Linked DNA regions of Homo sapiens: regions 2, 3 and 4 are each linked to region 1. The links are contacts of gene promoters, found by promoter capture Hi-C in human tissues and cell types (Jung and others, 2019). All regions are on one chromosome and are shown on one strand. Each heading gives the region's core, a stretch centred on a gene start or on the middle of the fragment in contact. The rest is flanking DNA. Distances are from core to core; before and after follow the strand shown. Region 1 holds the start of RSPO2 (R-spondin 2). Region 2 has its middle 55 kb from the start of RSPO2. Region 3 has its middle 39 kb from the start of RSPO2. Region 4 overlaps RSPO2 (R-spondin 2).

Region 1 (2,700 bases), core at 154-2,653:
AAATACGTCCTAAAGAGACAAGTTTAGATGAGGAGGTGGGGCGGCGAACATGAGTGCGGACCGCACGACTTAGCCCTGAGCGCCCGATTGGCGCCCGGCTCGCCGAGCTCCCAGCGCGTCTCGCTCCGGCTCCCCGCGCCTCCAGGGTACAGAAAACAGAGTGTTTTGTAGAGCTCCAGGGTCCTAAAGGTGGGGACTGGGGACCCGCAAAAGCTGGGGTGGAGAGCACAGCCCTGACCATCTGAGCCCCCGGAGCCAGGGCGTGAGTGAGCGCCTCCACACGCCACCCCTGAAGCCCACCACGCACCTTTGGCAGAGAGGGACCCACCTCGCTTACTGCGTCTCCATCGGTTGCCTTGGCAGTGGCTGTAATCCATGCAGTTCAGAATGATGAGGGCAAAGGAGAAAAGGCGAAACTGCATCTGGGCGGTCGGGCGGGGGAGAGACGCCTCTCAAAGTCTAGGAACTGGAGGGTTCGCCCAAAGAGCCGGCGCCGGCCGCGCTGCTGGGGAGGACTCAGAGGGAGACTCGCCACTCACCCCCGGGCCGCACCGGTCAGTTCAGCGCGATCAGCATCTCTCCGCCACGAACCTGAGAGACAAGAAGCGAAAACAGGGTGTGTGGGGGATGGAGAGAGCCCCGGGGAGGCAGCTGCGCCTTCGCACGTCCCAATTTAAAGAAGAGAGGGAAGGAGGAAGCGAACCCACTGCCTAGCACGAGCCGCGGAGCGGCTTAATCCAGAGCGGGCAGCTGCGGACGAGTTGGAGAGGAAGGTGATTATAATCAGTGAATTAGCAACCTCTGCCGAGCCCTAAGCTCCGACCCAGCGGCATAATGCGTTGTGCCGGCGCTCCGGGGAAAGGAAAGAACTCTAAAGGCACTGAGAGCGCAGGGCTAAAAGAACGCTCTTAGGCCATTTGGAGTCCACGGCGGTGTACCCAAGCGCCGCAGCTGCGGCTGCCTTGGTGTGGGTTGCCTACCGTGCGCACGTCTCGGGCGGCGCGGCCTCCCTAGGCGCGGTGCTCCATCCCGGGCTCGGGAAGCGAGCCGCTTGGTTAGCACGTGGGCTGGGGAAAAGTTTGCCGAGACCGGCTGGGAGCGCCTGGCAGCTCTGGAATTCCAGCGGCCGCCGCGGGGTTGGCGACGCCAGGCAGGAGCGCGGAGCGGCGGGTGCAGCCACTGGGATGCTCCGTCCCCGCCCGCGAGCGCGGTCCCCAGGCAAGGGGTGCGCCCGCTCACACTCTCTGCCTCCCTAACCAATTGTGTCGCTTCCTGCGCTTTCTCCACGGTCACTTCACAGCTAAGATTTCTTTCTTTCCGAGCTGTAGAAGGCAGAACGCTCTCGGGAGGACGAAGTGATCCGAAGGGATGTGGCAAGCGCACTTTCCGATGGAGATGCAGACCGGCTGAGGCTTGGGATGCTTCTATAAGTAGGTGGTGCTGTGGTCCAAGGCATCTAAGTCTAGGCTGCCTCGGAGTTCCTGGGTCCTAAAGCCAGAAACGTCCCGGTTTCCCTGAGGTCCTAAAGAACGTTGACAGCCAACAGCGCGCCTAACTTGGAGCGAATCCTCTTCGGGCTTTCCAGAGTGCGGGGGATAGATAAAGAGTAGCTGGGGAGACGCCCCCTGACCTTGCTGGGTCCCAGAACCCGGCTGCTCACCCCCAAGGGGTCCTCTCCAGCCCTCTAGGGTCAGTTCCAACCTCAGCGCCAACCTTTCTGCAGGGAGATCTGACTGAAGGACTGATGACTCCCTTTAAACTTTTGCAATATGCCACAACTCTGCCACTTTTTAATTTACATCTTGTCTGTGTTTTGCAGGAAGGTATGTTAGCCGGCTGAAATTATTCATAAAACGCGCCCCCACTTTGAGGAGTGAAATGGGTATTCCCAACAGCTTTTGTTCATCCTCAGAACTGTTATTTACTTTGTTTCTTCTCCAATAAAACAAAAACCTGTGATCCGTTGCCTGAAGTGCTGAAGAAGTTGGGGCCTTGATTCTTTAAAAATAATTTTAAAAAGTTCACTTCCCACTAAAGTATTTTTCATTCTTAATCCTCCTCTCATTTCCAAAGTCTCCTGAATTAAACTTTTAGGTGCTTTGGGTTTGGGGAAAATATTCTGTTTAACAAAGTGTTACATTAAATAGACTTGATGCCATCCAATTTCATTCTGGTGAAATCTGTCCTGCATTCACTACTGTAGGAAAAAATGTATTTATTCCTTAAGCAAAAGATAAGAATTTATGCCACTAACCGTGGCAGTATGAATGTCTATAGATATGCCCGCAGTTACCATATTATTATGATAGCATTTTATACTATTTAAATTCCCTTTTCTATTCCTTCAGTTTCAGAAGATGTTCAGAAATTTGATGACTTAAAAGACAATCATATAAAAAGAATATTGCAATACTCATATTTATTAACTATTCCATTATTGCCTATTCATAACTATTTTACAGACTCACTATTACATAGTGGTATTTATGTGCTAAGAATTTCAGCAGTATGCCTTTGATGCATGCCTGAGAACACCCAAGTAAATCTGAGTTGAGGTCATTGGTCCCATTTCATAGATAAGAAAATCCATCACTGAGACTGGCCCACAGGGCACAAATAGAGTTCACAAAACACATTGCAGAAACAGTGGATCTGTTTCTTGACTTTTGAGCCTTTGATTTTTATCACAGAATTTGGAAA
Region 2 (2,855 bases), core at 224-2,723, 55 kb after region 1:
CAGAAGATTATTTTTATATCTTCATTTGGGTTTTCTTATGGAATCTTGAGTCAGAACTCTCTCCAGAATGATCGTTGGGGAAGCTACCATAGCTTCAGAGGGAGAAGGTACAAGCAACATTTTCTCTCTCTCTTTTTTTTTCTTTGAAATAATCCCAGAGAAGAAGTTTGAGGGAAACTTGGTTGGATTTATAATCCTCCTGCATCAGAAAACAGCAACAAAAACTTCCAGTAGCTGACTTCACACAGCAGTTTCAAAACCAGAAACCAAAATAAACTGCCAATAGGAGCATCGATGGCAAGATTTCTTGCATTTTTCCTGTTGTGTAACCTAGCCTCCATTTCACCTTCCCTCCCAGAGATCATTCAATGTGGAGGGATCAGTTCTCCTTTCCTGCCCCAAGCAAGTGGCCAATGAATGTATCTGCAGTTTATAAGATTCCTCAGTCAGATTGGATGTGACAGAACAAGACTTTGGCAGGATCTGGGGTGTCTGGGTGACAAGGATCTGAGACTGTGATTTCTCTGCCACCTTTACTCCTGATTAGGGAGGGTGGCTCAAAGAGAGCACAGAGTTCAGGGAACGTATATGTAAAAAAGTGAGCACTTGGTTACAAGTAAAATCTAGGTTAGAAGTGAAATTGTTTGCAGCATTCAAGAGTGAGTGGAGTCAAGAAAGGTCAGCAGGTTGCTGCCAACAGATATGAGCGAAAAAGGAATGATTTAGTATTAGCAGTGGCAGTGGGACCCACTGAATAGTAGTATGCATGTGACTTTAACGTTTATAATAACAAGAGTAGAATAAAAATAGCTACCATTGACCAAGCACCTGCCATGCCCCGCTGTGGCAAGTTTTCCCCATCTATTAACTCAGGCACAATACCATGTATTCAATCCTTTTAACTCCATCTCTCAGATGAGGGCCTCAAGAAGCAGGAAGGTTAATAGATTGAGCATGGTCATTTAGTTGCAAAAAAAAGAAGAGCTGGAATTTCAACTAAGGTCTATCTGACTCCAACTTAGCCATCCCTGCCTCCTGTGCAAGGCTGCTGTAATGGGAGCTTTGGAATGGCCTCTGGATGGAGGGTTCAAGCTTTGACTTGTGTCCTCCTTCCAAGCTATTTGCCAGTCACGCTATTGCATAAGGGGAAAGGAAGGGAAAGTGGGGAGGTGATTCCTACTTTATTCCTCTCTTGGGAGTGGCTTCGCTCTATTCCTAGAAATGGGGCAAATGGATCTTTTCTATGGGTTGATGAATAGCAAAGAGAAGCCCATAGACGGGCATCTTGCCACACCCTCCACCACCATATATCTACCCCAGGGCCCCTGGATCCACAGGGTACCCACCTAGACCGATCTTGATTGCTTTATTTTCCTGTCAGAAAACTCAACTCGTTAGTAATTCCTCTGTTTCTAATAACGCTTCATCCAGGCTTAGCATTTGATGACTCTTCACACGCCTCCCCGTGAGTATGGCTTCCTTCAGCTGCCAGCGTGGAGAGAAGCTACAGGGACACCAGGAAGCCCCAGGGCCACGGCTTCCTTGGCAGAATCTCCAAAGAACACAAATATTCCCATTTTTCTTTTTGGCAGAAGTGGTGGATAAGTGCATTAACAAAAACAGGAATATGATGAAGGGAGGCTGAGAAGAAAGGGGTGAAGAGGAGAAACTCCTGATCAAATAAGAAGTCCACAGGGAGCTCATCCCCTGTGCTGCTGGGTGGTCTAGATTGTGTGTTTTAGACTCATGCAGATGAGAGTCTTATCTCCTGTGTTCTCAGCAGTTACTACCACATTGTCAGAGCTCCACACATTTTGGTTTTCCGTGGTGGTGACAAAAACACTTCTCTTCCCCACAGCTAACTATAAAAATAATAATGATGCCTGTGATGATAGCTATCATGTATATGACCCTGTGCACAACACTTTACAGGATGGTGATGATAATTCACACTTTTATAGTTTACCATGAACCAGCAATGTTCTAAGTGATCAACAGACAGACAGGTTAACTTATATGTCAATATATGAATTAACATATTAATCCTTACTGCAAAACTATGAAGTTGGTACTATTATCCTATTTTACAGAATAGAAACTGAAGAACAAAGAGTTAAGTGACTTGCCCAAGGTCATGAATATGAAAAGTGGCTATTTATCCCCCAGGAAACTAAGGTTCAGAGGGGCTAAGTCAACTGCTCAAGGTCACATAGTGAGAAAGTGGTAAAACTGAGTCTCAAACAAAATCTGCAGGAATCCAAAGTAAATACTATTAACTGCTAGGCTAGATTAACTCTCTCTATACACACAACTACATACACACATATATATGTAGATACACATATGCACATACATCCTAGAAAACTAGAAGTTTTTACCCCAAAATTTGGGACTCCTGGATTCTAAGACAGTATTTTTTATTGCCTCCAAAAATTGTACATCTTGGTATACATAGAAAAGCATTACATTTGAAGGTGACTTGGGCTACATAGAAAAGGCACCTCGAGGCTCTTTTTGACCCTGACCTGTGAGCTGAAAGATCAGTATTTTGGCACACCTGAAATCCACTTTGTTCAGAAAGTTCTGGCTTAGAGAAATGTTCCAGGCATGAAAGCAAGAAGTGAGTTGAGAACCTACCCCATCATCCCCTTCTCACCTCTCCCATTTCTCTGCTCTTTCACTTGCTCTGCATTTCACTGTACCCAGGAATAAGAAGAAATATATTGAATAAAGTCAGTTTCACTAAAAACAAACAAATATGCTCTGCCACCTGAAAGATTCCCATTTCAAGTCTCCTTCTCCTTTCTTATTCCTCCAGGAAAGCAGAATGATAGTAATTAAAATGGAAGCATGAA
Region 3 (2,776 bases), core at 120-2,619, 39 kb after region 1:
GACATTCAGACTTGCCCTTCACTTTTATAAATGTTTACATCTCAGAGTCAGTCTATCAGCCTTTAATTTGTGGAAGGATTTTCCACCCAACTAATAATACATTTTTATTTCTTATATTTTCCCTTCCCCATTTCAAGCAGATAGCCAGGGCCTTACTATTTCCTTGGCTCAGATAATTTTGCTGAGAAGAAGGCAGAAAAGAAACTGCTTGATGAAGATGAATTTTTTTTGTGGCTTTAGAAAAACTTACTGAAGAGTTAATATTAAATATTTTAAATGGGTAGAAGAAAGAAATGTAGACCAGGCAGTTTCTTCATAGTGTCAATAGTCTTTACAATTTGGTATGCTTTTGCAGTGGCTGGTACTGGTTTTCAATCCCATATTTAGTGCTTCCTTCAGGAGCTCTTGTAAGGCAGGCCTGGTGGTGGTAAAAGTCTCTCAGCATTTGCTTGTCTGTAAAGGATTTTATTTCTCCTTCATTTATGAAGCTTAGTTTGGCTAGATATGAAATTCTGGGTTGAATATTCTTTTCTTTAAGAATGTTGAATATTGGCCCCCACTCTCTTCTGGCTTGTAGGATTTCCACAGAGAGACCTGCTGTTAGTCTGATGGGCTTCCCTTTGTGGGTAACCTGACCTTTCTCTCTGGTTGCCCTTAACATTTTTTCCTTCATTTCAACCTTGGTGAATCTGATGAATATGTGTCTTGAGGTTGCTTTTCTTGAGGAATATCTTTGTGGTGTTCTCTGTATTTCCTGAATTTGAATGTTGGCCTGTTTTGCTAGGTTGGAGTTCTCCTGTATAACATCCTAAAGAGTGTTTTCCAACTTGGTTCGTTTGTCCCCATCACTTTCAGGTACACCACTCAAACTAGGTTTGGTCTTTTCACATAGTCCTATATTTCTTGGAGGCTTTGTTCTTTCCTTTTCATGATTTTTTCTCTAATCGTGTCTTCATGCTTTATTTCATTAAGTTGATCTTCAACCTCTGATATCCTTTCTTCCACTTGATCAGTTCAGCTATTGATACTTGTATATGCATCACAAAGTTCTCATGCTGTGTTTTTCAGCTCCATCACGTCATTTATGTTCTTCTCTAAACTGGATATTCTAGTTAGCAATTCCTCTATCCTTTTTTCCAGGTTCTTAGTTTCCTTGCATTGGGTAAGAATATGCTCCTTTAGCTCAGAAGGGTTTGTTATTACCCACCTTCTGACGCCTACTTATGTCAATTCGTCAAACTCATTCTCCATCCAGTTTTGTTCCCTTGCTGGCGAGGAGTTGTGATCCTTTGGAGGAGAAGAGGCATTCTGGTTTTTGGAATTTTCAACCTTTTTGTGCTGGTTTTCCACACCTTCATGGATTTATCTACCTTTGGTCTTTGATGTTGGTGACCTTCGAATGCGGTTTCTGTGTGGACATCCTTTTTGTTGATGTTGATGCTATTCCTTTCTGTTTGTTAGTTTTCCTTCTAACAGTCAGGCCCCTCTGCTGCAGGTCTGGTGGAATTTGCTGGAGGTCCACTCCAGACGCTGTTTGCCTCACCCGCAGTGGCTGCAGAACAGCAAAGATTGCTGCCTGTTCCTTCCTCTGGAAGCTTCATTCCAGAGGGGCACCTGCCATATCCCAGCCAGAGCTCTCCTGTATGAAGTGTCTGTCGACCCCAGCTGGGAGTGTCTCCTAGTCAGGAGGCACAGGGGTCAGAGACCAATTGAGGAGGCAGTCTGTCCCTTAGCAGAGCTCGAGAACTGTGCTGGGAGATCCACTGCTGTCCTCAGAGCCAGCAGGCAGGAATATTTAAGTCTGCTGAAGCTGCAACCACAGCTGCCCCTTCCCCCAGGTGCTCTGTCCCAGGGAGATGGGAGTTTTATCTATAAACTCCTGACTGGGGCAGCTGCCTTTCTTTCAGAGATGCCCTGCCCCGAGAGGAGGAATCTAGAGAGGCAGTCTGGCTACTGTGGCTTTGCAGAGCTGCAGTGGGCTTGACTCAGTTCGAACTTCCAGGCAGCTTTGTTTACACTATGAGGGGAAAACCGCCTACTAAACCCTCAATGATGGTGGACTCCCCTCTCCCCACCAAGCTCGAGTGTCCCAGGTCAACTTCAGACTGCTGTGCTGGCAGTGAGAATTTCAACCCAATCAATCTTAGCTTGCTGGGCTCTGTGGCAGTGGGATCCGCTGGGCTACACCACTTGGCTCCCTGGCTTCAGCCCCCCTTGTAGGGGAGTGAATGGTTCTATCTTGCTGGTGTTCCAGGAGCCACTGGGGTATGAAGAAAAACTCCTGCAGCTAGCTCGGTGTCTGCCCAAATGGCCGCCCAGTTTTGTGCTTGAAACCCAGGGCCCTGGTGGTACAGGCACCCAAGGGAATCTCCTGGTCTGCGGGTTGAGAAGACCTTGGGAAAAGTGTAGGAACTGGGGTGGAATGCACAGTTCCTCATGGCACAGTCCTTCACAGCTTCCCTTGGCTAGGGGAGGGAGTTCCCTGAACCCTTGCACTTCCCAGGAGAAACAACGCCCCACCCTGCTTCAGCTCTCCCTCCATGAGCTGCACCCACTGTTTAACCAGTCCCAATGAGATAAGCCTGGTACCTCAGTGGAAATGCAAAATCACCCACCTTCTGCGTTGATCTCACTGGGAGCTAAAGACCAGAGTTTTCCTATTAGGCCACCTTGCCAGCATCAACTAATGGGCAAAATAACCAGCTAGCATCATAATGACAGGATCAAATTCACACATACCAATATTAACCTTAAATGTAAATGGGCTAAATTCCCC
Region 4 (2,700 bases), core at 61-2,560, 47 kb before region 1:
TGGGTTCACACCATTCTCCTGCCTCAGCCTCCCGAGTAGCTGGGACTACAGGCACCCGCCACCATGCCCGGCTAATTTTTTTGTATTTTTAGTAGAGATGGGGTTTCACCGTGTTAGCCAGGATGGTTTCGATCTCCTGACCTCATGATCTGCCTGCCTCGGCCTCCCAAAGTGCTGGGATTACAGGCAATTCCTCACCAGTTCTTAAATTTTTGATTCCTAGACATAGAATCTGAGATTGCCCCAGAAGAGACTGTTTCAGTTTCGCTGGATTGGGAACTGGGCTCTTGAGTCACCAAATGCTCCCTGGGTTACTTTCACCATTTTCAGGTTTGGGAACCACCAAGTCTATCTATATGCTGGCTAATAAAAACATTTTTCATGATTTTGGTAAATATATTACAAAGATAGAGACCCAGAGGCATCTTATGAATCTAGGCATACTGTCCTCCAAGTATTAGACAGCAACTTTTCAGTTTGTTCTAAAATCCAAAGTATTTTTTTGAAAATTTGGTAGAATTAGCAATGGGCATTTCCTTCATGCCAGGTAAACTAATACAGGTGATTTGCTATCCTTAGAGATATTAAGCAAATAAAACCCAAAACCTAAAAAACACCCCACTTCAGGCTGACCCTCATTAGGAATGCAGCTGGTGACTTTAAATGAAACCAATGCTTATTTACCATTCCAAAAATCCTAGATCCCTTAAGAATTATGCTAAATCTATTCCGCCTGTGTGCTATAAATGGAGCAGCAAAGCCTGGATAACAGCACATCTGTTTACAGCATGGTTTACTGAAAATATGCTAACATATATAGCAAAAGATCCTCTCTGCCCCCTCTGCAAAACTGACCATCTTTCAAGTTTCTGCACCTATGACAACCATTTCTGTCAAGACCTGAACTGTCATTCAGGCAAGGAAGCCTGTGGCACATCATAAAGACCTGTGTGATGCCTGTGGCCATGGCGCTTTTCAATGTTAGGCTGTAGCTATACCTTTACCCATTTGTCCCACAAGTTTGAACATTCCCAAAACAAAGACCACGTGTTACAAAAATATCTCATTTTCTTGCATTTCACTTTATTGTGCTTCACAGATATTGCAGAATTCTTGCTGGGGGTGAGGTGGGAGGAAGGTTGTTGTTTTATATATTGAAGGTTTCTGGCAACCTTACGTCAAGTCTATTGGCACCATTCTTCCAACAGCATGAGCTCCCTTCTTCTGTCACATTTTGGTAATGCTTGCAATATTTAAAATTTTTCATTATTATTAATCTGTTATGGTGATCTGTGTTCAGTGATCTTTGATGTTACTTTTGTAATTGTTTTGGGGCACCAAAAACTGCACCCACATAAGATGGCAAACTTGACCAATCAATGTTGTGTGTTCTGACTGCTCCACTAACTGTTGCCATCTCTCTCACTCTCTCCTCAGGCCTCCCTATGCCCTGTGGTACAACAATATTGAAATTAAGACAATTAGTAACCCTACAGTGGCCTCTAAGTATTCAAGAGGAGGAGTCCTATATCTCTCACTTTAAATAAAAAACTAGACGTGATTAAGCTTAGTGAGCAGGGCATGTTAAAAGCCAAGATAGGTCAAAAGCTAGGCCCCTCAAGTTGTGAATGCAAAGGAAAAGTTCTTGAAGAACATTAAAAGTGCTATTCTAGTGAAAACACAGATAGGTGAAACAGCCATATTACCGATGTGGAGAAAGTTTTAGAAGTCTGGATAGAAGAATAAACCAGCCAGAACATTCCTTTAAGCCAAAGCCTAATCCAGAGCAAGATCCTAACTCTCTTTAACTCTACAAAGACTGAGAGAGATGAGGAAGCTGCAGAAGTTAAATTTGAAGCTAGCAGAGGTTGGTTCATGAGGTTTAAGGAAAGAAGTCATCTCCATAACATGAAAGTGCAAAGTGAAACAGTAAGTATTGATGTAGAAGCTACAGCAAGTTGTCTAGAAGATTTAATGAAGAAATGAAGGTGGCTACACTAAAAAACAGATTTTTAAATGTAGATTAAAAAGCCTGCTACTGGGAGAAGATGCCACCCAGGATTTTCATAGCTAGAGAGATGTGAATGTCTAACTTCAAAGAACAGGCTGACTCTCTTGTTAGGGGCTAATGCAGCCAGTGATTTGAAGTGGAGGCCAATGCTCATTTACACCTTGAAAATCTTATGGCCCTTAAAAATTATACTAGCTCTACTCTGCCTGTGCTCTATAAGTGGAATAACAAAACCTCCATGACAGCACACCTGTTTACAGCATGGTTTACTGAAGGTTTTAAGCCCGCTGTTGAGACCTACTACTCATTGACAATGCACCTGGGTCAACCAAGAGCTCTGATGGAGATGTACAAGGAGATTAATGTTTTCATGCCTGCTAACACAAGATCCATTATGTAGCCAGTGGATCAAGGAGTAATTTCAACTTTCAAGTCTTATTATTTAATAAATATTTCATAAGGCTACAGCTGCCATATATAGTGATTCCTCTAATGAATCTGGGAAAAGTAAATTGAAAACCTCCAGGAAAGGGTTCACCCTTCTAGACGCCATTAAAAACATTAGTGATTCATGGGAGAAGGTCAAAATATCAACATTATCAGGAGTTAAGTAGATTCCAGCCCTCATGTATAACTTCAGGGGTTCAAAACTTCAGTGGAGTGAGTAATTGCAGACATGGTAGAAATGG

What was found. The method cuts DNA at HindIII sites, captures the fragments that hold promoters and counts their contacts. A contact is called where the count stands out against the background at its distance.
Region 2: a fragment that was not itself captured here is called in contact with the fragment with the promoter of RSPO2 in region 1 in 3 of the 25 tissues and cell types used here (H1 embryonic stem cells, heart left ventricle and spleen).
Region 3: a fragment that was not itself captured here is called in contact with the fragment with the promoter of RSPO2 in region 1 in 1 of the 25 tissues and cell types used here (pancreas).
Region 4: a contact is called between a fragment that was not itself captured here and the fragment with the promoter of RSPO2 in region 1, in 4 of the 25 tissues and cell types used here (bladder, neural progenitor cells, psoas muscle and 1 more).

The regions. Positions count from the first base shown.
Region 1 is chr8:108,082,217-108,084,916 of GRCh38, forward strand. It overlaps RSPO2 (R-spondin 2), which reads right to left and starts at 1,404. Exons shown (of 6, transcript NM_178565.5): 1 at 981-1,404; 2 at 329-591. The coding sequence starts at 422. RefSeq lists an enhancer at 1-543 and a silencer at 260-435. The HindIII fragment of the contact is 6,606 bases long and covers 1-2,700 here.
Region 2 is chr8:108,136,808-108,139,662 of GRCh38, forward strand. No RefSeq gene overlaps it. Among named protein-coding and RNA genes, the nearest start is that of RSPO2, 55 kb to the left of the region's middle. The HindIII fragment of the contact is 3,964 bases long and covers 1-2,855 here.
Region 3 is chr8:108,120,805-108,123,580 of GRCh38, forward strand. No RefSeq gene overlaps it. Among named protein-coding and RNA genes, the nearest start is that of RSPO2, 39 kb to the left of the region's middle. The HindIII fragment of the contact is 3,236 bases long and covers 1-2,776 here.
Region 4 is chr8:108,035,563-108,038,262 of GRCh38, forward strand. The region is part of intron 2 of RSPO2 (R-spondin 2); the gene reads right to left. Among named protein-coding and RNA genes, the nearest start is that of RSPO2, 47 kb to the right of the region's middle. The HindIII fragment of the contact is 7,457 bases long and covers 1-2,700 here.